Linked DNA regions of Homo sapiens: all the other regions are linked to region 3. The links are contacts of gene promoters, found by promoter capture Hi-C in blood cells and fetal thymus (Javierre and others, 2016). All regions are on one chromosome and are shown on one strand. The core of a region is centred on a gene start or on the middle of the fragment in contact, and the rest is flanking DNA. Distances in the headings are between cores, read along the strand shown.

Region 1 (6,039 bases), core at 3,100-5,599, 270 kb after region 3:
CGAATTTGCTATTTCTAGAAGTGCCTTGGGTGATTCTGTTGCCCTTAGTCACTAGAAAAGTCACTCCGAATCAGACAACGCTTGGTTTGACCCCAGTCTGTCACTTACGAGCTGCATGACCATAGGGAAGTAGCTTCTTCTCTGATCTTGTTTTCTTATCTGTAGACAATAGGCATGACCACATTCTCATGGAGCTGTTATGACACATTAATTAAATTAATGGATGTAGAGTTCTTGGCATAATGCCAGTTGTTCAGGCGGCTGCCACTACGATATTATTATTATTATTATTATTTTATTGTTATGCCCAAGCAGGAGAAGATTTTTCTCCCTGTAAGATCACTCTCGGAGTCTCCTCAAAGTGGGGTTCTGAGACCAGCAGCATCAGCATTACCTGGGAGCTGGCTTAAAATGGAGAATCTCTGCCCCACCCCACATCTACTGAATTGAAATCTACACTTTAACGAGACCGCGTTGAATGTTTGCACATTCACATTTTAAAAGGACTGTTCAAAGTCACACGTACTCTTTTCTTCCTGTCTCTAATTTCAGGAGTCTGCCCAGGAGGTTCATGAGCCCTGGCATCCCAGAATCTGAATCCTTCCTCAGTGACAGTGGCTCTTTACCCTTCTAAGTGCAGAGGAGGAAGCCCAGCGCATTCTGGGTGCACTTCCAGCTGAGGAAATAAGGAGGAGGAATTCCTGAAGCCCTGAACAAGTGCCTGGGATGGATCCAAACTCCATCTTGCTTTCTCCTCAGCCCCAGATCTGCTCCCACCTAGCAGAAGCTTGTACGGAAGGCGAGAGAAGCTCATCCCCTCCAGAGCTGGATAGAGACTCCCCGTTTCCCTGGAGTCAGGTCCCCAGCTCCAGCCCTACAGACCCCGAATGGTTTGGTGATGAGCACATCCAGGCAAAGAGGGCCAGAGTGGAGACCATTGTCCGAGGCATGTGTCTCTCCCCGAATCCTCTGGTGCCAGGCAATGCGCAAGCTGGGGTCAGCCCACGCTGCCCAAAGAAGGCCCGAGAGAGGAAGAGGAAGCAGAACCTTCCCACACCGCAAGGCCTCCTGATGCCAGCCCCTGCCTGGGACCAGGGCAACAGGAAGGGGGGCCCTCGTGTGAGAGAACAACTTCATCTGCTGAAGCAACAGCTAAGACATCTGCAAGAGCACATCCTACAGGCTGCCAAGCCCAGGGACACAGCTCAGGGGCCAGGAGGCTGTGGCACGGGGAAAGGCCCTCTGAGTGCAAAGCAGGGGAATGGCTGTGGGCCTCGCCCCTGGGTTGTGGACGGTGACCACCAGCAAGGTACCAGCAAGGACCTCTCTGGGGCAGAAAAACACCAAGAGTCTGAGAAGCCCAGTTTCCTTCCTTCTGGAGCACCAGCTTCACTAGAGATTCTGAGGAAAGAGCTGACCAGGGCAGTGTCCCAGGCTGTGGACTCGGTATTACAAAAGGTACTATTGGATCCACCAGGCCACCTGACTCAGCTGGGCAGAAGCTTCCAGGGGCAGGTGGCAGAGGGTAGAAGCGAGCCCTCACCTCCTGTGGGAGGGGCCTGTAAAGATCCACTTGCTTTGGCTGCCTTGCCCAGGAGGGTCCAGCTACAAGCTGGGGTCCCAGTAGGAAATTTATCACTGGCCAAGCGTCTAGATTCTCCTAGGTACCCTATCCCTCCAAGAATGACCCCCAAACCCTGTCAGGATCCCCCAGCAAACTTTCCCTTGACTGCACCTTCCCACATCCAGGAAAATCAGATTCTTAGCCAGCTACTGGGTCATAGATACAACAATGGCCATTGGAGTAGCAGTCCTCCCCAGGACTCATCTTCCCAGAGGCACCCCTCCTCAGAGCCTGCCCTACGACCTTGGAGAACTACTAAGCCGCAACCATTGGTCCTGAGCCAGCAGCAGTGTCCCTTGCCTTTCACCTCTGCCCATCTGGAAAGTCTACCCCTTCTTCCCTCGGTGAAGATGGAACAGAGAGGCCTGCATGCTGTCATGGAGGCACTGCCTTTCTCTTTGGTCCACATATCCTTTAATAGCAATTGAAGTTCTCATTGTTGGCCAGGTGCAGTGTGGCTCATGCTTGTAATCCCAGTGCTTTGGGAGGCCAAGGTGGGAGGATTACTTGAGGACAGGTGTTCAAGACTAGCCTGCACAACATAGCTAGACCCCATCTCTAAAAATAAAAAATTATCTGCACATGATGGCCCATGCCTGTAGTCCTACTCAGGAGGCTGAGGCAGGAGGATTGCTTGAGCCCGGGAGTTCGAGGTTACAGTGAGCTATGATTGCACCACTGCACTCCAGCTGGGCAACAGAGAGAGACAATGTTTCAATAAATAATTTAAAATACCATTGACACTGTGCAGAGAAACAAGAAAACTAAAAGTTGAAGAGGAGCTGGGGACAGATCACTCAGGGTCTTCTTAATGTTGCTCTGGGCCTTCAGCTTATAGTGGTGACCACATTCTGGAATTTAAGGACCTGGGAAGGTTCACTTAGCTTCTTCTATGACCCATCGGGTTCTGCCACTTGACTTATTCCTTTGGGTCTAAAAGGGTTTTGTTTTGAGACTCAAATAGGCTTCTGAAATACAATGAATACCCTAAGGAAGAAAGAATCCATAATTTGGTTGTCAGCCACCCATAAACTTAGGAGGAGAGGGTCAAAGGAATGACGTCATCTAAGGTATGGCCTCCCCAACCCCATAGCTCTACAAGCAAAAATCCTATATTGTGTAGATAATTCCTGGGGAGCAGATGAGGAACAAGAAACTTCTGGGCCAAATGGAAAAGGAGTTTTCCTCGGGGATTAAACCCAGAGAGGTGGCTGGAAACGGCCAGAGGTCTCCAGTTTAAGGAACAACTTCCAAGGTGCAATGGAGTGCCTGGAGACTAGGGGCTGGGCATATGAAGGGAGAGGAGGCTCCCCATGAGGAGGCCTGAGTGGCCCAGGCTGATCTGCAGGGCTCTGGATCTTATTGCATCATCTTTGCAACCCTTAAGTAGACACTACTCTCTTAATGTATTTCCCAGAGTAACCCTCGGGATATTAATAATTGTTGAGTTAGAAGAAAAAGTACCTTGGGGAAATACTGAGATAGTTTCTTTTCTGCAGGAATTCTCAGAGCCTTTAACATGAGTAAATGGAAGCTCTAAGAGGAGAATGTACACAGCCCCAAACCCATATGACCACTTCTAACAAGCATCTTGCAGAACTTAAGTTCTTGAGAATATATTTTGGATGTTGCTTTTTAAGCTAGCTGTGCTCACGCTGCTGCTTCTTGTGTGCAGCTTTGAGGGGAATCTCCAGAAGCTGATGAGTCTATGGAGTTGCATATCCAGGTGGGAACAGTCGTGTCCTTTGCCTGGCAACTACTGTGAGGGCAGCAGGATGGGGTGGGACCAGCTCATTACCATGCCAGAACCTGCCTTTGTGTCCTAAATGCCATGAGCGCCCCCTGCCGGTCAAAAGTGTTGGAAACACCCCAAAGCTTTCCTGGAAGTTAGCGAGCAACTGTAAAACCAATGCTGAGAACACTTCACTTGCCACCACTCTTGGAGGCAGAGATTCCACCATAGACAGATTTTCTTTATAAGAAAGGCTACCTGTCTGGGCCTTTGATAACCACTAGTTGACTCTCCATTAAATTCAGACAGCTGCAAAAACACCTCAGTCTCCCAGAATTTGCTATTTGTTGAGCACCTACATGTGCCTGTTCCTGCCCCCTAAATTGGGGATTGGGCTCAGAGAGCTTCTGGAGGTTTGGGGCCTATCCTAAGAAATACCTAAGCCAGGACTGGCTGCATGGGTGAAGTACTTGACTATCTTTGGAATGACTTGGGACCCCCTAGCAGCACCCTGGCCCCTCAACTCTTCCCTCATTCCTGCTGCCTATATTCCAAGAGATTTATTCCTGTGGGCCATGAAAGCCACCTGAGAGCAAGCTGCTTTACAGCATAAAAAGAACGTTCACATTCACATGACATCCTGTGACATAGGTAGGGCAGATGTGAAGATCACGAGGGGAGCATTGACAGAACACCTTCTCGGTGGCAGGCATTGCTACCAGCACTTCACACATATGTGCCCACCACCACTTAGCTACAATTCTGAAACCCATAAAGCTTTGACAGGCCCTATGATTTTCCCCCCCTAAGAATGATGCAATCTTTTTTTTTTGGTAGCAAAACCTGGCTTGCACTGATTGGAGGCTATTAATAGATTTTATCCCACTTAGTATAGTCATACGTTCTGCTGCAGAAATGTTAATGTATTGGATTATACACTGTCTCAGCTGTGGATGTTAATTAATGTGTGGTACACACATCGTATTATCTTTATAAGCTAACAAATTCTGAAATCCAAACTCCATTTGGCTCAGCATTTCAGATAACGGGTTTAGACCTGTATTATCTCACCGTTCTCAAGCATCCACTCTAAGATCGGGTATCCGAGAAGCAGAGACAGAGAAGGGAGCTAACTCGTCCAAAGTCCCAAGACACACTAATGAGCAACCAGGATTTAAACCCGGGATCTGATGGCCAAGTACAAGCTTTAACCACTATACTCCACATCTTAGCAATGAGGCTCAGAGCAGTTAAGTGGCTTGCCCAAGGTCACACAGCTAATAGATGGCAAAATCAGTGTCTGAAACTGGGTCTTTGGAATCCCAATCCAGGATTCTCTCCACAGCATTTGTGGATCTGTAGGAAGGGTAAGTAGGGGCTGATGGGGCAGCAGGGAGGGATCTCCTGTGCAGCAACTAGGTGCCTGGGCCACCTATAACCATAGTCAGTTGGTCTGGTTTCTTTTGGTTAAACAGATTCATCCTATGTGGAAGTCTTCACTGTCTTAAGCTACAGCTCTCGGATCTGAGATCCCAGGTTACTCTGTGTAATGCTTCTCACCCAGCCTAAGGACTGTCCCTAAAAATGCAAAGCGTATTTGTGTAAATCTTTTTTTCATTTCCGTCCTGCCCTAGTGCTAGGCAGTCACATCACAATTCTCCGACTCTTGTTAAAGGGGAAGGAATCTGTCTGTTCCCAGAGTGAGGTATAGTTTGGAATCTAATTTCCATATATGTGTATGGATTAAGGTTGACCGTTCACTCACTTACTCCTTCACACAACAAATATTTATTGAGCACCTGCTATGTTCCTAGCACTGGGCTAGGCACAAAGATGAAAAGATAAGGTCCTCACTCTCAAGGAGCTCACAGTCTAGACGAGACAAACATACAGTAAAAATTCCAATAAGGTCATCGCTGCAACAGTTTGTACAAAGAGTCTTCATAGCCCAGGGTAAGGAAGGCCTAATTTGGCAAGGAAGGGTTTAACAGAGGTGGGAGCTTCTGAGCTGAGACCTGAAAGATGAGGGATAGTTCTGCCAGGCAAATGGAGAGTGGGTACCACCCAACCATTCAAGCTTCTTGAGCAAGAGCAAAATATGAGCTGGTATTCAGCCTGCTTAGATGTTTGCTGGTTATAAAGGCAACACTGTGAAGGCAATGATAAGAGTGACAGCCAGAATGGGGACCACCTAGTTTACTCTTCTCGTTTTACAGCTGAGGAAACTGAGGCAGAGAGGGGAAGTAAATCTCTGCTTGGGGTTTTGAAATGGTTTATCTGGGATAGAATTGCCATCTCTTCCCATCCCACTTGGACACCACACACACACACACACACACACACACACACACACACACACACAATACACCAACCTGTATTTGACATCTAAGACACCACACACACACACACACACACACACACACACAAAATACACCAACCTGTATTTGACATCATCTATGCTACATAACTTTTCCACATCGAGATGATTTTTACATTCTGTGACTTAACTGTGCACATATGTCATCCAGCTTATTTGACCAGAGTTTCCAGAGACAGAAAAATGGAGCAAATACACAATTCCAATCAGAAAAACAAAATGAAATCAAATAGAAACCACAGGAACAAGGAATTCACTAGTTAATTGATAAACTGGCATTTTAAAGTGTTCATTTTCCTTGACACT
Region 2 (6,406 bases), core at 3,105-5,604, 270 kb before region 3:
TTTTATGTAAATCAAATTGCTATTTTTATATTTTCTTGTGATTAGTTCCTTTTGCTGAACATTGTGTTTTTAATTTTCATTTATTTGTTTATTTTTTTTGAGACAGGGTCTTACTCTGTCACCCAGGCTGGAGTGCAATGGCCCAGTCACAGCTCACTGCAGCCCTGACCTCCTGGGTTCAGGTGATCCTCCTGCCTCAGACTCCCAAGTAGCTGGAACCATAGGCTCACACTGCCATGCTCAGCTAACTCTTTCTTAAATTTATTTGTAGAGACAGGGTCTCATCATGTTGCTCAGGCTCATCTCCAACTCCTGGGCTCAAACAATCCTTTTGCTTCTGCCTCCCGAAGTCCTGGGATTACAGGCATGAGCCACCACACCCGGCCGAATGTTGTATTTCTAGATTCATCCATGTTGCTGTGTGTAGCTTTAGTGTGCTCATTTTCCCGGCTGTATTATATCCCATTGTAGAGCATACCACAATGCACTCATTTGTTTTCCTGTTTGGTGGATATCTGAGGAATTTTGAGTACTGTTACAAACAGTGCTGCCATGGATTTTCTGGTACATGTCTCCTGTGACCATTGCAAGAGTTTCTCTCTGCACACGTTTAGGAATGAAACTCCTGGATCAAGGACTCTGCACATGCTCAGCTCTCCAAGGTGCTGCCAAACCAGATTCTCAAGTGGTTGTTCTTCTACCAGTGATTGGGGAACTGCTCATTGCTCCGCATGTTCACCAGCACTGGATAATGTCCTGTGGTTTAACTTTTCTAACTTTTCATGACACCCAGGATTTTCATGACCCCCTTCCCTGTTTGTGTATTGGGCTATAACACAGACTCGATACTGTTACACCCAATCGGCTCTGATGCTAGGCTCTCCTGACTGCTTTGTCTCTGAGTTTAACACAAGCTAACACCCATCTTATAATTGCTGGTAGACTGTCAGTCCACGGCAGCCTTTCCCCTCTCCCGTCCACATTCAAATCTGCTATGGAATGGGACGTTCCTCATCCAAATTGTTCCTCAAACTTTGTCTACACAAACAGTAAATATGCTCTGAAGGAGGGTCAAGATGGTGCACCTGTGAATAAATACATAAAATCTAGGCAGTGGATCCTGTGACATTTATTTTGGCTGTGAATAGTGTTTTTTGTCTTGTTTTGCTTTGAGAGTTGTTGTTTGTCTGTTCATTGGTTTTGGGGGTTGTATTGATTTCTGCTCATTTTCTGGTTCCTGGCAGTGTTCCAAATAGCTGGGGTTGCCGCATAAATCACTTCTGAACAAGTGAAGTGCTGTACCCTTTGAATGTACTTCTAATTTAATTTTGTATTCATTTAATTAAATTTGTATTTAATTTTTGTTGTTGGTATTCCCCCAAAAATATCATGTTTCACCTCGTAGATGGCACATATCCCTATGCCAAGAGACACTGAATATTCCAAAGAACCCAATTTTGCCCCCATCAACAGCACCCTCAGAAACAAGAATTGTTAGGACTGTCTGACTTTAAATGGAATTCATGCCTCACGTTGAGTTTGAGATTATTCCATGGACTCATCTAATGGCAAAACCAACAATCTTGGTAAAATCTTATTGTTAAAAAGTAGTTTGACAGGGGCTAAGACTGGGTTACTGACCAACTCTGGCAGATGTAAGCAGAATGGGAATTTATTAACAGGATGTTGGATATTCACAAAATCATCAGGTGGACTGGAGGACCAGGGTTGAGGCCATATAGCCAAAAACAGTGCCCAAAATCATAAAATCACATGGCAGAACCTGTTCAGTAAGGAGCCACCACTGCCACCAAGCACTGGGCACCTCATCTTGCCTCACACATGCCCCTGGTACTGAACACCGGGGGCAACCACTGCTGCCCAGGTCTCGAGCCTATTGCTGAGGCTGCCTGGACCAGAGAGCCTGCCCTTCGTGGAGCCTGGTTACAGGCTGTGACCTAGCTACAAGAGAGTCTGGGAAGACAAATGTGTTATTTTGGCTTGAGTTCTATCTATTTAGATAGAAGACTCAAAATAATTATGGTCTAAACAACATAGAACTTTATTTTTTGGCCAGGCATGGCGGCTCACATCTGTAATCCCAGCACCCTGGGAGGCCAAGGCAGGTGGATCACTTGAGCCCAGGAGCTTGAGATCAGCCTAGGCAACACGGCAAGACCCTATCTTTGCAAAAATACAAAAATTAGCCAGGTGTGGTGGTGCACGCCTGTAGTCCCAGCTACTCAAGAGGCTGGGGTGGGAGGATCACTTGAGCCTGGGAGATCGAGGCTGCAGTGAGTTATGATCACGCCACCACACTCCAGCCTAGGCAAAAAAGCGAGACCCCTTTCTCAAAAAAAAAAAAAAAAAAAAAAGAAAGAGTTTTTTTTTTTCTCTATGTAAAAAAGTTTGAAGGCAAACAAAGTTGGAGCGAGACCACTCTGGAGCTCCTTCTGCACTGCCTTTGCACACTGCCTTATGGACCAATAAGGCTGCTTGGGAGCCTGCCATCAAGTCCACATTCCAGATATCAGGAAGGAGAAAAGGGTAAGAAGCAGGCCCCCTCCCTCCCTTTACAACCACTTCCTGGAAATTGCCCATATCACTTCTGTCTCAATGGTTGAAACTTGGTCGCTTGGCAACATCTGGCAGAAAAGAGTCTGGGAAATGTAGTCTTTGGCCCAGGCAGCCATGTGCCCAGCTAAACATTGAGGGTTCTCTTATTAAAGGAGAAGGGGAGAGTGGACATCTGGGGAAGCCACTGGTAGTGTTGGCCACGACAAGTTCTTAGCAATGTTTGCTTTGTGTTCTGGGATGTGAGCTCTGTTCCCCACCATGGCTCAGAAAAGTGTGTGTGTGTGAGTGGGATACTCCCCAAACACAGAAAGGGGGTTCAGAAGCTAGACCACATATATATATATGTGTGTGTGTGTGTGTGAAAATAAATTGAGAACACAAAATGGCCACTACCATTTCTTCTACTCAGTGGTAGGCTGATTTACAGACTCACACAGGATGAGAGCATTCAAATGAAGGCATTTGGCAGAGAAAGACTGGAACATGGAGCAGAAGAGATTTGGAAATAGAGTCGTTTCCATCACGCAAATCTTCATTTTATCACAGGTTTGTGGGACCAGGGCAAGAATTCAAACAACAATTCACATACCATGTATCTAAATATTTAAAAGCTATAAGTCAAGATAAGAAATTATTCAATAAAACCTGTCTTCTTCTCCTGTCTTCACAAATGAACCTCCATAACATTCTGGAAGGCCAGGTATGACTTTAGAATCCTCAGACTCTTCAGACCAGAATGCAGCAGCAGAAGGAAAGGCAGCCCCGCTCAGGGCCTGCCTGCCGTTTGTTCCAACCCTCAGCCAGGGCCCCTTCTCAAGTGCACATGCTTGACACCAGCCTGCACCTCCGGGTTCTGCCCACTGCCCAGTCCCAAGCAGCTATCCCTTGGCCACTGGCTGCACAGGCTACCTTGAGAGGGTGGACCATGGAAACAGGCCCACCCAGAACCTGGAAGTGGGCTTGGGCCATTCGGGCAGAGATTCTGGGGTCCTGAGTATGGAGCATGGGCTGGAAGGGGTGGGTGTGGGCATAGACTCTGTCTGGGCATCACCCTCAGCCCTGAGGACCCCCTCGCCCCAGGGACAAAGGGAGGCCTGCGGGGAAGGGATCTCCAAAGGGCAGGGCTTGCCTGGTCTCAGAGTGGTACTGGGTCACTTTGTCACACTGACTGGGCAGGCTTGTCCATAAAGTGAATTGAGAATAACTGGAAGCTTTTTTGAGAGTTTTCCCTATTCCATCTGGGATCTAAAGATTGCCCCTGGATTACTGACGATGCGAGAGGGATTTCTTTAGCCATGACTCTATGTTGGGGGAGATTCAGCACTAAGTACATTTCTCTTCATCTCTGGAAACAAATCCAAACTATAAAACCAAAACCAAAATAGAACAACGAAAAACAAATCCCTCTTCCTTCCCTTGACACACTCAGCCCATTTCTCTGTCGGTTTCCTTCAGCTCTGACACCCTCCAATCAGGCTCTCTCCCATCGTTCTTCTGCCTTTCCGTGCTCACTTTCCTCCCCCCGCCCTTCTTCCCTGGCTCCTGTCTTAATCCCTGCCATAGCGACAGGGAAAAAAACAACATAACACTGGGGCAGATGAGAGCTGAGTTTCAGAGCCCTACTGAGGAGCGCAGGCTAGCGGGGAACCAGGAGTTTCCATAACGAAACTGACAAGAGGAAAACCTTGAAATCTTGGAGGAGTAATGAGGAAAACCTTGGGGTTAGAGAAAGAAGAGGCCTTCCAAAAGCCCAGAGGAGGCCGAGATAAAAAGAACAAGGAAGGGCCAGGCGCAGTGGCTCACGCCTGTAATCTCAGCACTTTGGTAGGCCGAGGTGGGTGGATCATGAGGTCAGGAGTTTGAGACCAGCCTGGCCAACATGGCAAAACCCCATCTCTACTAAAAATACAGAAATTATCTGGGCGTGGTGGCATGCGCCTGTAGTCCCAGCTACTCAGGAGGCTGAGGCAGGAGAATCACTTGAACCTGGGAGGCGGAAGTTGCAATGAGATGAGATCATGCTGCTGCACTCCAGCCTGGGTGACAGAGTGAGACTCCATCTCAAAAAAACAAAAACAAAAAAGAACAAGGAGGAAGGGCTTTGGAAAGTTGGTAAAAGGTTAATCTATTTGCCCTCCATGCCACTTAGCCCCTGACCATCCCAAAACACAGAAGTCAACATCCTTGGGATGAATTATGAGCAGAGGGAGAAATTCCAGGGCAGGGGAGCAGACATCAGGAAAACTGAGATCCTTCTTCTGAAAGGACATAAAAAGTTAATATTTTTGTAAATTGGAACCCAAGCATTTCAGGCCTGGTGGGATGATAAGGGGTTAAAGCTTCCACGGAGCAAACCTAAAGTAGCTTGGAAGGGTGTGGCCCCCAATTTGATTTATTTTAGAAGCATGGAAAGCCAATGAATGTGCTTCTGGCCACAAGACAGGACAGGTGAGAAAAAAGAAAGGAAAGAGGCCTGGTTTGTGTTTCCTGGAAAGGGAGTGTCGTTACAGCTCTCCTGGGGAGCACACACACGCCTCTCGTAAATGTATATGAGCCCTGATTAGTTGGCTCCTGCTCACCACCCTAGCATGTTCCCAGTGGCTGGCTCCCTGGCGTTCTGGCACTCAGGGCTGCCAACACCTGCCAACAACAAGGAAGCTGGGTATTGGGGCTGCAGCTTTTGGAAGCTGCTTATGAAACAGATGACTAAGCCCTGGGGGCAGGGGGAGGGTGCAGCTCATGCCTAGCTCAGCGAGAACTCAATCCAAGTCAGCCTTGACCCGGTGCCAACCATGTGCCAGGCTAGTCCCTGGGGATGTGAAGATGACGAGGCATGGTCCCTGCTCCAAAGGACCAGGCATGCCCATAAAGAATTGTAATCAGAGGCATGAATCTGCAGAAGAGGAGAATACAGGGTTTGGCAGTGGACATGATTTCCCAGGGGGACAGTGATAGAGGCAAAAGAAGGGGGAAGGGGAGTTTCTCCATTCATGTAGTCAGGCTAAGAGTTTTAGCCTCTTCCTAAAGCACACACCCTCTTCCTCATGCCCTCTTAATCCAGTTAGTCTGGCTTCTGTCACCCAAGTGGCTCTCAGACTCTTTCCTCTTCTCCTGTCTTGGCTCAGGTCCTCATTTCTGGCTTTGGCCCAGGCTCTTTGCACTCAGCACTGCAGACAACTTCCTACAATTCAGGTCCAGTGGGCTTGCCCCCCTCCTTGAAGCTGTCTATTGTTTCCCATTGCCCCAGAATAAAAGCTAAGCCCCAAGGTCCTTCACATTGCAGCCCCAAGCTGCCTAAAGCCGAGGGCTCAAGGAGGCTTCAGTGTAGGTTTGACTCAATAGCACCACAATGTCATCAAAACCCCTTCTTCTTCTTGGTGTTTTCCTCTCTGCCCTCCATGGTGTTGTCTTCATGCTCAGGCAGGCTTTTCTCATGGTGAGAAAACGGCTGCCACAATTCCTGTTTTCACACCTATGCTCCATGCTGTATAGAAGGAGAAAGGGAGAGAGCTTCTTTCCCTGAACCTGCCAGCAAAGTCTTCTCCAGTCTCTCAGGTCAGAATTGGGTCATTTGCCCATCTGCAGGCAAGAAGGGATTTTGCTGATTAGTCTATACTGGGGCTATTTACCCCAAGCCTAGGCCAGGGTGGAGTCGACTTCCTCCAAAAAATATGGGAAGTGTAGGGAGGGTGGATACCCCAAGGAAAATGGGGTAGTTACTGAGAGAGAATGGATGCTGAAGAGGCCACCCTTCCAGCATCTCCTCCCGACAAGCCCCACCCAGCTACTTCTTTTTCCCAAACACGTCATGTTCTTTGGTGTCTCCCAA
Region 3 (6,026 bases), core at 2,361-4,860:
CTCCTGCCTCAGCCTCCCGAGTAGCTGGGATTACAGGCATGTACCAGCACGCCCAGCTAATTTTGTATTTTTAGTAGAGATGGAGTTTCATTATGTTGGCCAGGCTGGTCTTGAACTCCCAACCTCGTGATCCACCCACCTCAGCCTCCCAAAGTGCTGGGATTACAGGCGTGAGCCACCGTGCCCGGCCCAATACATGCTTTATAAATCATTTATTTAGTCTGCTGCAGTGGTGTCTCATAAAATGTTGAGCTGCATGTATAATTTTAAATTTTCTAGTATCACATTAAAGAAGTAAAAAACAGGTAAAATTTGCTGATTCTCCAGCCTCCCGAGTAGCTGGGATTACAGGCACATGCCACCACGCCCAGGTAATTTTTGTATTTTTAGTAGAGATGGGGTTTCACCATGTTGGCCAGGATGGTCTCGAACTCCTGACCTCGTGGTCTGCTCACCTTGGCCTCCCAAAGTGCTGGAATTATAGGCATCAGCCACTGTGCCCAGCCGAAAATTATTTTTAGTAGTGTATTTAACCTAATATACCCAAAATATTATTTCAACATATAGTTAATATAAAAATGGTTAATGAGATGTTTTGCATTCCATTTTTCATATAAAATCTTGAAAATCCAGTGTGCATTTCAAGCTATACCGCATCTATAGCTTAAAATTAGACTAGCCACAATTCAAGTGTTGAGTAGCTATATGTAGCTAATGGCTACCGTGGCAGACAGTGAAGGGTATAAACTTGGGTTGGTCTTTGGTAGATTCTTTCATCTTGACAGTAACTCTATGGCCCCTGGGAATTTGCCATTCACAAATTGGAAACTAATGCAAAATAGCATTCTAACCATTCACTTGTTAAAGTACAATGTGGAAATAGTTTGGTTTCAACCAAAGGCGCTTTAAAATTTTACACCTTGGCCAGGTGCAGTGGCTCACACCTGTAATCCCAACACTTTAGCAGGCCAATCACTTGAGGTCAGGAGTTCGAGAACCAGCCTGGCCAACATGGCAGAATGCCCTCTCTACTAAAAATACAAAAATTAGCTGGGCATGGTGGCGGACGCTTGTAATCCCAGCTACTCAGGAGACTGAGGCATGAGAATCACTTGAACTTGGGAGGTGGAGGCTGCAGTGTGCTGAGATCATGCCACTGCACTCCATCCTGAGTGACAGAGTGAGACTGTCTCCAAAAAAAAAAAAAAAGTTATACCATTAGAATAAATGTTGACTATTTTTGAACTTATAAATATTCAAAGGTAAGACAATTAGTTTCAGTTATATCCAATATAATGAAGAATTCAGCAGGAATGTCTCTGCTCTATAATAGGACATGTTTCTTCTAGGCTTGTAGTATCTATGCATTATCATTAGAACAATTCAGTTTCAGGCCAACCACGTTATAGAAAACTAGTTCCTCGTTGCAAAGGTGCCAGAAAAAAATGAATTTTTAAGCTTAGGCTGAAATCTATTCAGCCTCTTTGAAAGTCAGCATTCCCAATTTTAAGTAATTGGTTTTTTCCCATTCAACTGAGAAACAATTTATTGAGCATCTTTTCTGTTTAACAGAGTTAATCGAGAATAACAGAATTAAGTTAATAGAATTAACAGATTTAAGCCAAACTAAACTCTGGAGTTTATCTAGATAAACAAGAGGCAATACCTATCCTCAAAGTGCCTTCTAATTAATAGGAGGATGTAGATGGAATGGCCTCTACCTGAAATGATCTCTCTACTTTGTTTAGACTTAACATTTTGTATATTCCTGCACTCACACAGCAAGTTTGGCTTGGACAGATGCCACTCCTAAATGCCTCTCTAGAATCTTGCACTTTAATAGCCCTTATAGAAACTGTTTTAATTGCCTGGTGGTTTTCTGTTACATGTAAGCTCTCTTAAAGTAGGAACTTTTCACAAATCGATATGACACAATGTATTTTTATGTATTTGAGACAGGTTCTCACTCTGTTGCCCAGGCTCGAGTGCAGTGGCATGATCTTGGCTCACCGCAACCTCCGCCTCCCCAGTTCAAGCAATTCTTGTGCCTCAGCGTCCCAAGTAGCTGGGATTACAGGTGTGTGCACGCCTGGCTAATTTTTGTATTTTTAGTGGACACGGGGTTTCACCATGTTGGCCAGGCTGAACTCGAACTCCAGGCTTCAAGTGATCGGCCCTCCCAAAGTGCTGGGATTACAAGTGTGAGCCACCACGCCCGGCTAGGCACATGGCTTTCTCTTAGCCCCATCACATCCTGCTTTTTCAGATTGCTGGGTTCAACTTCCCAGCTCCCTCTTACTAGGTCTGTCACATTAAGCAGGTTACTTAGGTACCTCTGTTTCTGTAAAATGGGAATGTTAGGATAATACATAATACATAATACATAGGATAATACATAATAATGTGAGATAATACGTAAAAAACCTTTAGCATAGTACCCAGAACATAACACTCAATAAATGTTAGCTGTTATGTCTGTGATGTAGACCACATTCTCACAACAAAACAAGCTTGGAGATGAGAAGTTGCCCAAGGTCACATAATTGCCCAAGGTCACATAACTGATGGAACACCTATTGTTCACCGTATTGCTGTTTTCCTACTTGACGGTAGGGAGAACATTATTGCAGATTTCCTGTTCCCAAACAGTGTGTGGCACCAAGTGCTCAAAGAATGTTTCATGATATCATATGGTCAAATATCTGGAAAAACACATAGAATAAATTGAATCTGGAAAAAGAGACGGGGGAGAAGGAAAGTGTCAGGAGAGTTGACTTAAAATATTTTTGGAGTTGTGTAGAAGAGGGAGGGACTTAGGATGGCCCTGGGAGAAAGAACTCGGCCCAGGGACCGAGATGACCGGAGGCAGACATTTAGGCTGTCTATATTATTATTATTTTTTTTTTTTTTGAGACAAAGTCTCGCTCTGTTATCCAGGCTGGAGTGTAGTGCGCGATCTCGGCTCGCTGCAACCTCCTCCTTCCGGGTTCAAGTGATTCACCTGCCTCAGCCTCTGGAGTAGCTGGGATTACAGGTGCCTGCCACCACGCCTGGCTAATTTTTGTATTTTATAGAGACGGGGTTTCACCAGTTGGTCAGGCTGGTCTCAAACGCCTGACCTCAGGTGATCCGCCCGCCTCGGCTTCCTAACATGCTGAGATTACAGGCGTGAGCCACCTTGCCCGGCCATATTATCTTTACTATACTATCTCTCTAAAAAAGAATGCTGTCCAACGTTGGAATGGGGAAGAAGGTGTACACTGGGAATGCTTCCCCAATCACCCTCTTGTCACAGACCTGACGTCAAGATGAGACTGGACGACCTCTGGGCCTCCAAGTTGTATGAGTCCGGACCGGGGAGGCAGAGAAGGGTCAATAGACCCGAGAGGCCGTACCGTCAGTGATGCCCTTGTTCCCGTGGGAGCCCTTCGGTTCCACGCGGTTCCCACCACGCGCCCGCCAACCCTAGCCCGAGGCCTCACTTTGCAGGCCTTCCCCGAAAGCGGGAAGCCTTGGCCGCTAGACTAGCCAAGAGGGTAAGCAAAGGCGGAGGAAACTCAGCCAGGCCGGAAACACAGAGAACTGTTTCCGGGTCGGGGGGCAGGAGCCACCATCGAGCTTCGCGGGGTTGCTGGGCTGACGGATCCGCGGGCCGGCATCTGAAGCGAGCGGGACGCAGCGCGGCCAGGGCCTCCGGGCATACGCAGGCTGGTCCCCAAGGCCCGCGGCCGCCGCCATGTCGGTGCTGGGCGAGTACGAGCGACACTGCGATTCCATCAACTCGGACTTTGGGAGCGAGTCCGGGGGTTGCGGGGACTCGAGTCCGGGGCCTAGCGCCAGTCAGGGGCCGCGAGCCGGCGGCGGCGCGGCGGAGCAGGAGGAACTGCACTACATCCCCATCCGCGTCCTGGGCCGCGGCGCCTTCGGGGAAGCCACGCTGTACCGCCGCACCGAGGTAGCGGCCCTCGGCGCCGGCCGCCCTGTCTGGCGCTGTCGGGTCGCCCCGAGTCCCTCCTTCTCGGCCCCGCTTTCCCAGCGTCGTGAGCTTAGTGCTTTAGGCGCCCACGGGGTATATGTCTTAGGGTCTTCACCACTCTTCCCACTCACCGGCACTAGAAATTGGCTAGATCATTGGTTTGACTAGTCATTTTTGATTGTCCTAAGTCACCTAACCGTCTCTTGAGCTTTAGTTTCCCCATCTGTAAAATGGGCTTACTGATAATACCTTGAAATCATCTTTTTCTTTTTTTTTTAAGATTATCTTGAGAATCAAACGAAGGCTCTGTTCTGTAAATTAAAGTGGTATACGAATGTGAGGTATTGCCAAAACTTCCTTCCTCTCATGCTGTATATATAGTTCTCCAAGGTCGGGGTGAGGAGGAGGGGCATAGCTTCAAAATCCCCACACCCGTGGCAACTCCGTTATTTTTGTCATTATCTTTAAGTTCAGCAGTGATCACTCAGTTGGAAGCTTTTCTTGAAGCTCATTGGGAAGATCTTTGTGTGTTGGTTCTTTATCAGTGTTTATCTTGCAGGGTTTATGCATGGGAAATACTTTGTTGGTATATTCTAAGCCATTAGTTCTTAATTTGGGGGGCACAAGGACCCCTTTGATAACCTAAGCAAAGTAATCTTGCCCCCTCCATCAACACATTTGCACATATGCACATCCTTTGGAGAGATCCATGGATCACGGAATCCCAAGTTAATATATACTAGTGTAAAACCCTGCAGTGATTATTCTACTTCCAAAAACTAACGATACACTAGATTTGATCATAAAATCTTACTTTAGGGTAAACATTTAATGAGAACTTGCTGGGGTTGCTGAAGGTGATTCATCCGTCGGAAATCCATCTGCAGTTCTGGTGTGTGTTCCAAGCCAGCATACTTTTAAGGCTGAAAGATGGAGAAGGAGAGAAGTGGTTGCAAGAGAATATTTTTAAGTGTTCTTTTTTATCCTGATGCCACGTTAATGTATGATGTTAGAGTTAGTTATTCTTAGTAGTCTGTTTTCTTTTTTGCACTCAAAATGAGAAAGAGGAGATAAGGATTGTTATTTCTATATTTTAGTTAGAGAAACTAAAACAGTATACTTAAGTGACTTGCTCACTTAAGTTACAAGTAAATCTTGGACTAGAACTAAAGTCTCACATCTTGCCCATTGCCTTTTTATTATTATCCTGTTGAACTTGATTACTGGGTTGGTTTTGAGTTAAATTTGATTACACTTCCCAAAAATTGCATAGCGTTGTCCATATCACCAAATATTTATTAGATCTGTGAATTTACAAAAGTTCAGAAGCACTCTTTTTCTCTAGAAGCTTATATTTCAGTAGGAAAATAAGTTGACCATTGTTAGTAAACAAATAGCATTAAGTTGCATATGTAGAGATATGAAAAGAATGAACAAATATCATTTCAGTGTATGGGGTCTAAAAATTAAAGACATGGTTACAGTAAAAGCTTCATCAGAGTCTTTTCAAAAACACTGTAAAGGCTTGGCAGAGGCATTCAAAAGGATGGGGAGGGTTACATAGGTGGAGATGCTCCTGGGCTAGGAAGCAGGGTCAGCAAAGAATGAGGCGAGGCACAGTGGCTCATGCCTATAATCCCAACACCTGGGAGGCCAAGGTGGTCGGGTCGCTTGAGGCCAGGAGTTCTAGACCAGCCTGGGCAACACAGTGATACCCCATCTCTTAAAAAAAAAAAAAAAAAATTTAGCTGAGTGTGGCAGTGCGTGCCTGTAGTCCCAACTACTGGGGAAGCTGAGGTGGGAGGATTGCTTCAGCCCAGGAGTTCAAAGCTGAAATGAGCTATGACTGCACTCTAGTTTGGGCAACAGAGTGAGACCCTATCTCTTAAAAAAAAAAAAAAAAAAAGATAGTAGACATCAGGAGCTACAGGATACATAAAAGTATGAGAGGAGATTATAGAGTTGCAAAAGGGGTCATGACTTCTCTTATCCAGAAAGGGTAGGTGAAAATCACTAGGGAAGTCTAAATTTATAAAACTAGAGGCAAGTT
Region 4 (6,418 bases), core at 1,702-4,201, 280 kb after region 3:
TGGCTATCAAGCACCTTTGGAAACCGCATTAACTCTTTCAGCCTAGGTGGATTTTCTTTTGCACATTTAAAGAGTTTCATTAACAAGTATCCTTCCAACAACTGTATCTTCCACACCTGCAAAGTTAACCAACAGACCAGGGCCTTCGAAAGTTTTGCTTAATGAACCTATCATCAGCTAGAGATGAAATAAAATTTAAAATCCCCTTTACCCCACCAGTTCTCAAAGTTGGCTGCATATTAGAATGACCTGGTGGCCTTTTAAAAAATTACCAAGGCCTGGGTCCCACTCCTAGATTCTGATTTAATTGCTATGAGGTGTAGCCTGAGCTTTGGGAGTTTTAAAAGCTCCCCAGGTCAAAACCACCACTTGAGTGCACAACTCTTCACACTTTTCATATTTTATCATTCTTCCAAAAATGCATACATACAGAAAGGAGTAATCATCTATTCGAGTGTTTATGGAATCTAAGCAATCATTCCACCAGAACCTTACCAATCCAGGGGTTAAGGCCTCCAATGTCAGTCAATAGCCTTCCCTCTGGCCCCTGAAAATAAACACTGGGAATGCTGCCTTTCAGGTCTAGTAGAGGCCCTGCCAATGCACTCAGTTTCATATCTAGTGAATACAGAAGGCTCAGGTGAGAAACAGAAAATCCTCAAAGTATGTTCTTTTAATAAAAGCTTTACTACCTAAACAAATAAACTAGATCCTATTAAGAAAAGTGGGTGTTCCAGACTTCATTTTTTTTTTTGAAAATACAAAAACTGTATTTTCCGGGATCATTCAAACTTGTATGAAAAGAAGAGGTATGATGTAAGAAAATATTTTCACAGCACCTCTGGATCCAAGTTGTCATAATTCCAAAGGGAGCAGAGAATGACTTGGAAAAAAGAACTTCATGATTAAAGATTATTTCCTCAATTGACATTTTACCTTCCCCAAGATTGAAACAGCACCTATTCCAAAAGCAAACTGGTTATGAACTATCACTACCACTTAGAACCTATTTTGCTTATCCATATCAATTCCAAATCTAGATTCAAAAGGCAGAATTCAAATGAGTACAGCATATAAAACTGGAATTTTAAAATGAGAAAAAAAATTTTGAAACCCCCAATATTAAATTAAGACTGTTTCTAAAACACACATGTAGATAATTATTAGGAGAAAATAAAAAGAGAAATGGTTTCCCTGTAGCCCAGTAATTCAATTCTTCTGTATCTTCCCCAGGGAAGATTTTTGAAAATAAGCCTGCAAAAGGCATTTACAAGGATGTTCAATGCAACACTGGTATGACAGTGAAAAACTCACAAAAAAAGGAAAAAGTAAGCCATTATACACATATCATGGAATATACACAAACATGAATGCATGTATTTATATCTACCTATATATATATTTACCTATATATACATATATACATGCATGTGTGTATCCAAGACATAGTAGGTCTGCAGAACAGTATGTAAAGAATATCAGTCATGTAAAAAACAGTAAAACTGTATTTTTATAGGCAAGTACATATGTATACAAATACACACAAAAAGGTTTGGAAAAGCCACACTCCAAAATAATAGTAATTACCTCTAAGATTCAAGGTATTTGTGCTTAAGGGGGAGGGGGGAGTGTTGAGCTTTATCTGTAATATTTTATTTTTTTAATAATGAAAATGAATTCACATCTTCTGGATAGAATATATGAATTTGAAAAAGACGATGCCCAGAAACACTTCAATAAATTAAACATAATTATACCCACCTTGACTGTGACAGGTCCCAACAAAGCTTTAATGACACACATCCTCTTTCCTCAGTGGAAACAGCAGAAAGCAGTGGAGGGTTTAGAGCAGAAAATTCGGATCAAATTTGCATCCAGGTATAGTGGCCATTCAACTGCTCCACTTAACCAAAGGGAATTCTCACTGTCTTCTTTTCCTGGGATAGATGTGTGCCCACTATTTAACTGTATATACACAAGGTGCTTACCTGCAACTTGAGAAATGGAGGTACTGGAAGGATGTCACTCAAAAGGGGTAGCGGGGAGACAATATTCATGCTTCCATGTGAAAGCCAACAATGGACAAAAATCAACCCACCGCAAATTCAGCATCAGTATATTACATATGTATTGCCACTTCGCTCAATGAAGACAGAAATGCTTTTCCAAAATACTAGTAAAAAGGTGCTGCTCAAAATATTTATATGTAATAAAACCTGATGTTTCCTTTCTTACAAATATCTTCTTTGCCATAACTGTCTTTCAGACTTGTCATCATCCTTTAGAGCATGTCAGAAAAGTCCCAAAATGACAGCCTATTGGTAACATGTGGCTTCCAGATGTGATTTGTTTCTACTGTGACTATTTCACATAAAAATGCAGACTTCCACTTTATCTTCATCTAGTAACATTGGGTCTGTCTTTCTTCATTCCAACCACTGGCTGGAGAATTGTCCCCTGAGACAGGACAAGCACTCTGCACCATCCCAGCCTCCACCATACCCTACTGCTTCCTGAACCCTGAGGCTGAGAGGGCCAAGTACCCTGTTTTATTCTGCTTCTGCTGTTGTTTTTCTCACAGTAAAGAAAAAATAATACTGTACTTATGTCTCTACCAAAGGTGGGAAAACTAAGAGAGTGCCAAAAGTTTTGAGAATGAGAAACAGGGTATTTTTCTATAAGAGTGAAGAATATTCCCACATGTCTAATCTGCAAACAAAGTAAGTTTCTGTTGAAAGAATAAAACTAAATATATTATGAAATTACTGGCCAATTCTCTCATTTACACTTATCTTCCTGTCCTTTGAAGGCATTTGAATGTGCTACGCCTTAAGTATTGATATGCCACCAGCTGGAAGATACAGAGGTAGGGAAAAAGCAAACACAAGAATTGGTTTTATAAATTATACATATATGAACCTACATGAATTAATTTTATACTTAAAAATCACCAGGTCATCAATTCTAAATATACTTCTTGAGTAGCAACTATATGTAACAGATACTGCATATTATGTGTTACAAGGATGGAAGATGAGTAAAACATAATTCTCACCTTCTAGGAGCTTGTATGTAAGTGGGTAAGGATGGGGGGGAAGGATATATAAGTTACTCTACTAGAAAGGCAAATTAAGAGAAGATGGTAGGACATGTACAAACAAAGCCTGTGAGAGCTGGGAGGGAACAAGATGAGGAACAGATTCAGGGACGCAGTACCATGTGAGCTGGGCCTTTGGACAGTTTCTCCCACCACCGATCTTTTTTTTGAGATGGAGTCTTGCTCTGTCACCCAGGTTGGAGTGCAGTGGTGTAATCTTGGGTCACTGCCTCCTGGGTTCAAGTGATTCTCCTGGCTCAGCCTCCCGAGTAGCTGAAAATTTTTATATTTTTAGTAGAGATGGGGTTTCACCATGTTGTCCAGGCTGGTCTCAAACTCCTGACCTTGCATGATCCACCTGCCTCGGCCTCTCAAAATGCTGGGATTACAGGCATGAGCCACCGTGCCTGGCTTTTTTTTTTTTTTTTTTTTTTTGAGATGAGGTCTCACACCCTGTTGCCCAGGGTGGACAGCAGTATCAGCTCACTGCAGCCGACATTTTTGTTGCCCAGGCTGGTCTCTAATTCCTGGGCTCAAGTGATCTGCCTGCCTCAGCTTCCCAAAGTGCTAGGATTACAAGTGTGAACCACTGTGCCCAGCCAATAATGCTAATATCTAAAGGATGAGAAAAGCAAGGCAGAAACAATAGAAACCCCAGGGAATAAGTCACACAGTGTGGCTGCAGTGTAGTGCACATGTAGTAAGGACAGCTCAAGAGGAATCTGGAGAAGTAGCTGGGATCATGTTACTGATAGACTTTAACGCCAAGTTGATGAATTTGTCCTTAAAAAGATTAGGAATGGAGCGCTACCGAGTGAAGCAGGTAAGATGCTCATCACTGGGTGAAAGCAAATGGACTAGTTACATAAGAAATTACAAATTAAAGAAAACAAAATTATTAATAGTTCTGTAAGCTATTTGCATAACAATACACAAATGATTTTCTCTACTTTGTGGAGAAAACTCCACTGCTCTTGTACAATCACTGAATCCAATACTCTGTTAATTTTCAAGCTTCTGTTATTCATGAGAATTACCCAACCAAGTAGTAAGTGTTTAAGAGGGATCCTAGGTGTATAGCTACCTTATACATGAGAGTTTAAGGAAGTTGGTTTCAGAAGTAATCACATTGTTCCTGATAGTCATATCAGAATGTATTTCCAGGTCCACAGAGTTTAGTAAATACACACATGTCCACTTGCACACGACACACAAAATAAAGGAGAATTCACCATCCTAGAATTTATGAAGGTCTTCATAAAGGAGGTATTGTAGTTAAGAAAAAAGAAAGTGACAGGTTATGGACCAGGAAACCCAAATTCTAGTCTTGTTTTGCCACTGAGTAACAGTGAGACTTTGAGCAAGTCACTTCCCTTCTTTCGGTCTCAGAAACCTCATCTGTAAAACAAGAAGGATCTCACCAGAACCAACTCTAAGGTCTAACCACTTCTCTAAATATCAAAGGTTTCAAGCCGGCAGTCCACAAGTCAGATGTGGCAGGCAGGCTGTGAGGGCCAAAGCACTCACAAACAAAAAGAACCTGATGCTGAAATACTGGAAGATCTCACATAAAAATCCAGATTTTTCACTTTTTCTTGAAAACCCAGGAAATCTGGCAATATGAGACCTATATCCCCACATGGCCACAATCTGCTATGGCTGAGCAGGTGCTGCCCCCGATTGACCTGACCTATCTAGTTGTCTAGTTTACCAGTCTCCACCCTCTGCCTTGCTCATCTGTTACCTGCCTGAGTCTGTGACCCTTGCCATACACATAGGAAACATTCCCTGTATTTACTCACTCTACAGATATATGAGCCATGCACTGAGCCAGATGCTGTAAAAGAAATAAGCATCAGACATATCTACTTGAGAAATACAAACTCACTGTCAGAAATAACAGATCTGAGAGTGGAATTTCAAGTTATGGCAGAAGATATTATTTCAATTTTTCAAATATGGTTAAGAGATGGATCTGTAGCCTAGATCAGTATTTTCAGGAAAAGGAGTACGAATATTTGGTAAAAAGTTCAAGCTTCTTAAGTAGAAGACACAAAGTCAAGCCTTTCCCTATACAGTAAACCATTAAGTCCACAGGCTCTTTGTAGGATCACAAATGCAAGGCACTGCTGGCAGGCAGAGGGCTGTACATGAATGCAGAAGCTCAGCCCCAGTCATAAAGATGCTCCTTGACTATTTCAAATGTGAAAGCAATGGACCTGAAAACTGAGAATGGATCAGTCACTGAGGTGCACGTGCATATAAATATCCAGGTTCTGAGAACAGTGACCTAAGGTATTAACTCTCAGTCACGTGTGGACCAGGGGATCATCAGAGTCTCTGACCATTCTGGTTCTCTAAGACACATCATGGTTCTTTGCTTTGTCAGTCTCCTATCATGCAGAATTTTCCAGGAAACAAGATGTGCCTTCGTCATCTCATTACTGTCATACTGTCTTGAGAGTTCACCGCTGTGCTGTGCTGGTCCTTAAGTGCTTGTCATCCTTTGAGTATGTCTATGAAATGGTGCCATCGGTATTTTCCTTCATTGCTAGAAATCAGGCAAGTACAGGAAGCTGCAGAATGACTGAGTATATGTGAAATTCATAATTTATAACAGTAAACGAGAGCATGAATACCCATTAATAGAGACTCTGTAAGTTAAAATGATAGTAAAGACATAAAACATTCTGCAGCTGCAAAAGAGAATGAGTTGGAAAGCTACTCAGCAATAAAAAGGAATAAGCTATTGACACACATAACAACTTAAATGAATCTCAAGAAAATTACGCTGAGTGAAAAAAGCCAAAATGCCAATCCCAAAAGGTTACATACTGTATGACTTCATATTTATAACATTCTTTAAATGACAAGATTATAAAAATGGAGACCAGATTAGTGGCTGCCAAGGGTTAGAGATGGTGGGGTTGGGGGACTAGGAGAAAGGTGGAGGGTGGTTACACCAACCTACATATATGAAAGAATTGTATACAAATATACCCATACCATGTATTCCATGCCACGAAAAGAACAGAGATGCAGCTGAAACAATTTCTGAAATTTTTCAGTAAACCTCTTTATATTATGAAGGTACCTTTGGAAAACCAAAGAAGGAGGTGGGGGGGAGAGAAAATGTGAATATTTTATATATGATCTGAATGACCTCTAAAACATACTGGTAAAGGAAAAATAAGGTAGTGTGTGTACAAAAACCAGGTAAAAACATTAATACTTAATGCTTATCCACACAATTTTTCTCAACACTGGTTGCCTCTACAGATGGAGTCGTGGGAGGCTGAGGGTTAAGATGGATGGGACACT

Evidence for each region. The method cuts DNA at HindIII sites, captures the fragments that hold promoters and counts their contacts. A CHiCAGO score of 5 or more calls a contact.
Region 1: a contact is called between a fragment that was not itself captured here and the fragment with the promoter of NEK9 in region 3, in 1 of 17 cell types (erythroblasts). The highest score is 6.7, in erythroblasts.
Region 2: a fragment that was not itself captured here is called in contact with the fragment with the promoter of NEK9 in region 3 in 3 of 17 cell types (monocytes, M0 macrophages and neutrophils); the score reaches 15.3 in monocytes.
Region 4: a fragment that was not itself captured here is called in contact with the fragment with the promoter of NEK9 in region 3 in 1 of 17 cell types (naive CD4 T cells); the score reaches 5.1 in naive CD4 T cells.

The regions. Positions count from the first base shown.
Region 1 is chr14:74,858,522-74,864,560 of GRCh38, reverse strand. It overlaps PROX2 (prospero homeobox 2), which reads left to right. Exons shown (of 6, transcript NM_001243007.2): 3 at 553-2,031. The coding sequence starts at 727. LOC124903348 (a long non-coding RNA gene) reads right to left here. Exons shown (of 2, transcript XR_007064269.1): 1 at 5,795-6,039; 2 at 5,126-5,728. Among named protein-coding and RNA genes, the nearest start is that of PROX2, 15 kb to the left of the region's middle. The HindIII fragment of the contact is 428 bases long and covers 4,136-4,563 here.
Region 2 is chr14:75,399,314-75,405,719 of GRCh38, reverse strand. No RefSeq gene overlaps it. Among named protein-coding and RNA genes, the nearest start is that of JDP2-AS1, 25 kb to the left of the region's middle. The HindIII fragment of the contact is 1,128 bases long and covers 3,791-4,918 here.
Region 3 is chr14:75,124,632-75,130,657 of GRCh38, reverse strand. NEK9 (NIMA related kinase 9) reads left to right here and starts at 3,610. Exons shown (of 22, transcript NM_033116.6): 1 at 3,610-3,955. The coding sequence starts at 3,737. RefSeq lists enhancers at 3,557-3,686, 3,697-3,746. The HindIII fragment of the contact is 1,961 bases long and covers 2,513-4,473 here.
Region 4 is chr14:74,839,831-74,846,248 of GRCh38, reverse strand. It overlaps LOC105370569 (a long non-coding RNA gene), which reads right to left. Exons shown (of 2, transcript XR_944033.3): 1 at 6,104-6,418; 2 at 4,230-5,648. Among named protein-coding and RNA genes, the nearest start is that of PROX2, 33 kb to the left of the region's middle. RefSeq lists an enhancer at 4,188-4,347. The HindIII fragment of the contact is 2,324 bases long and covers 1,790-4,113 here.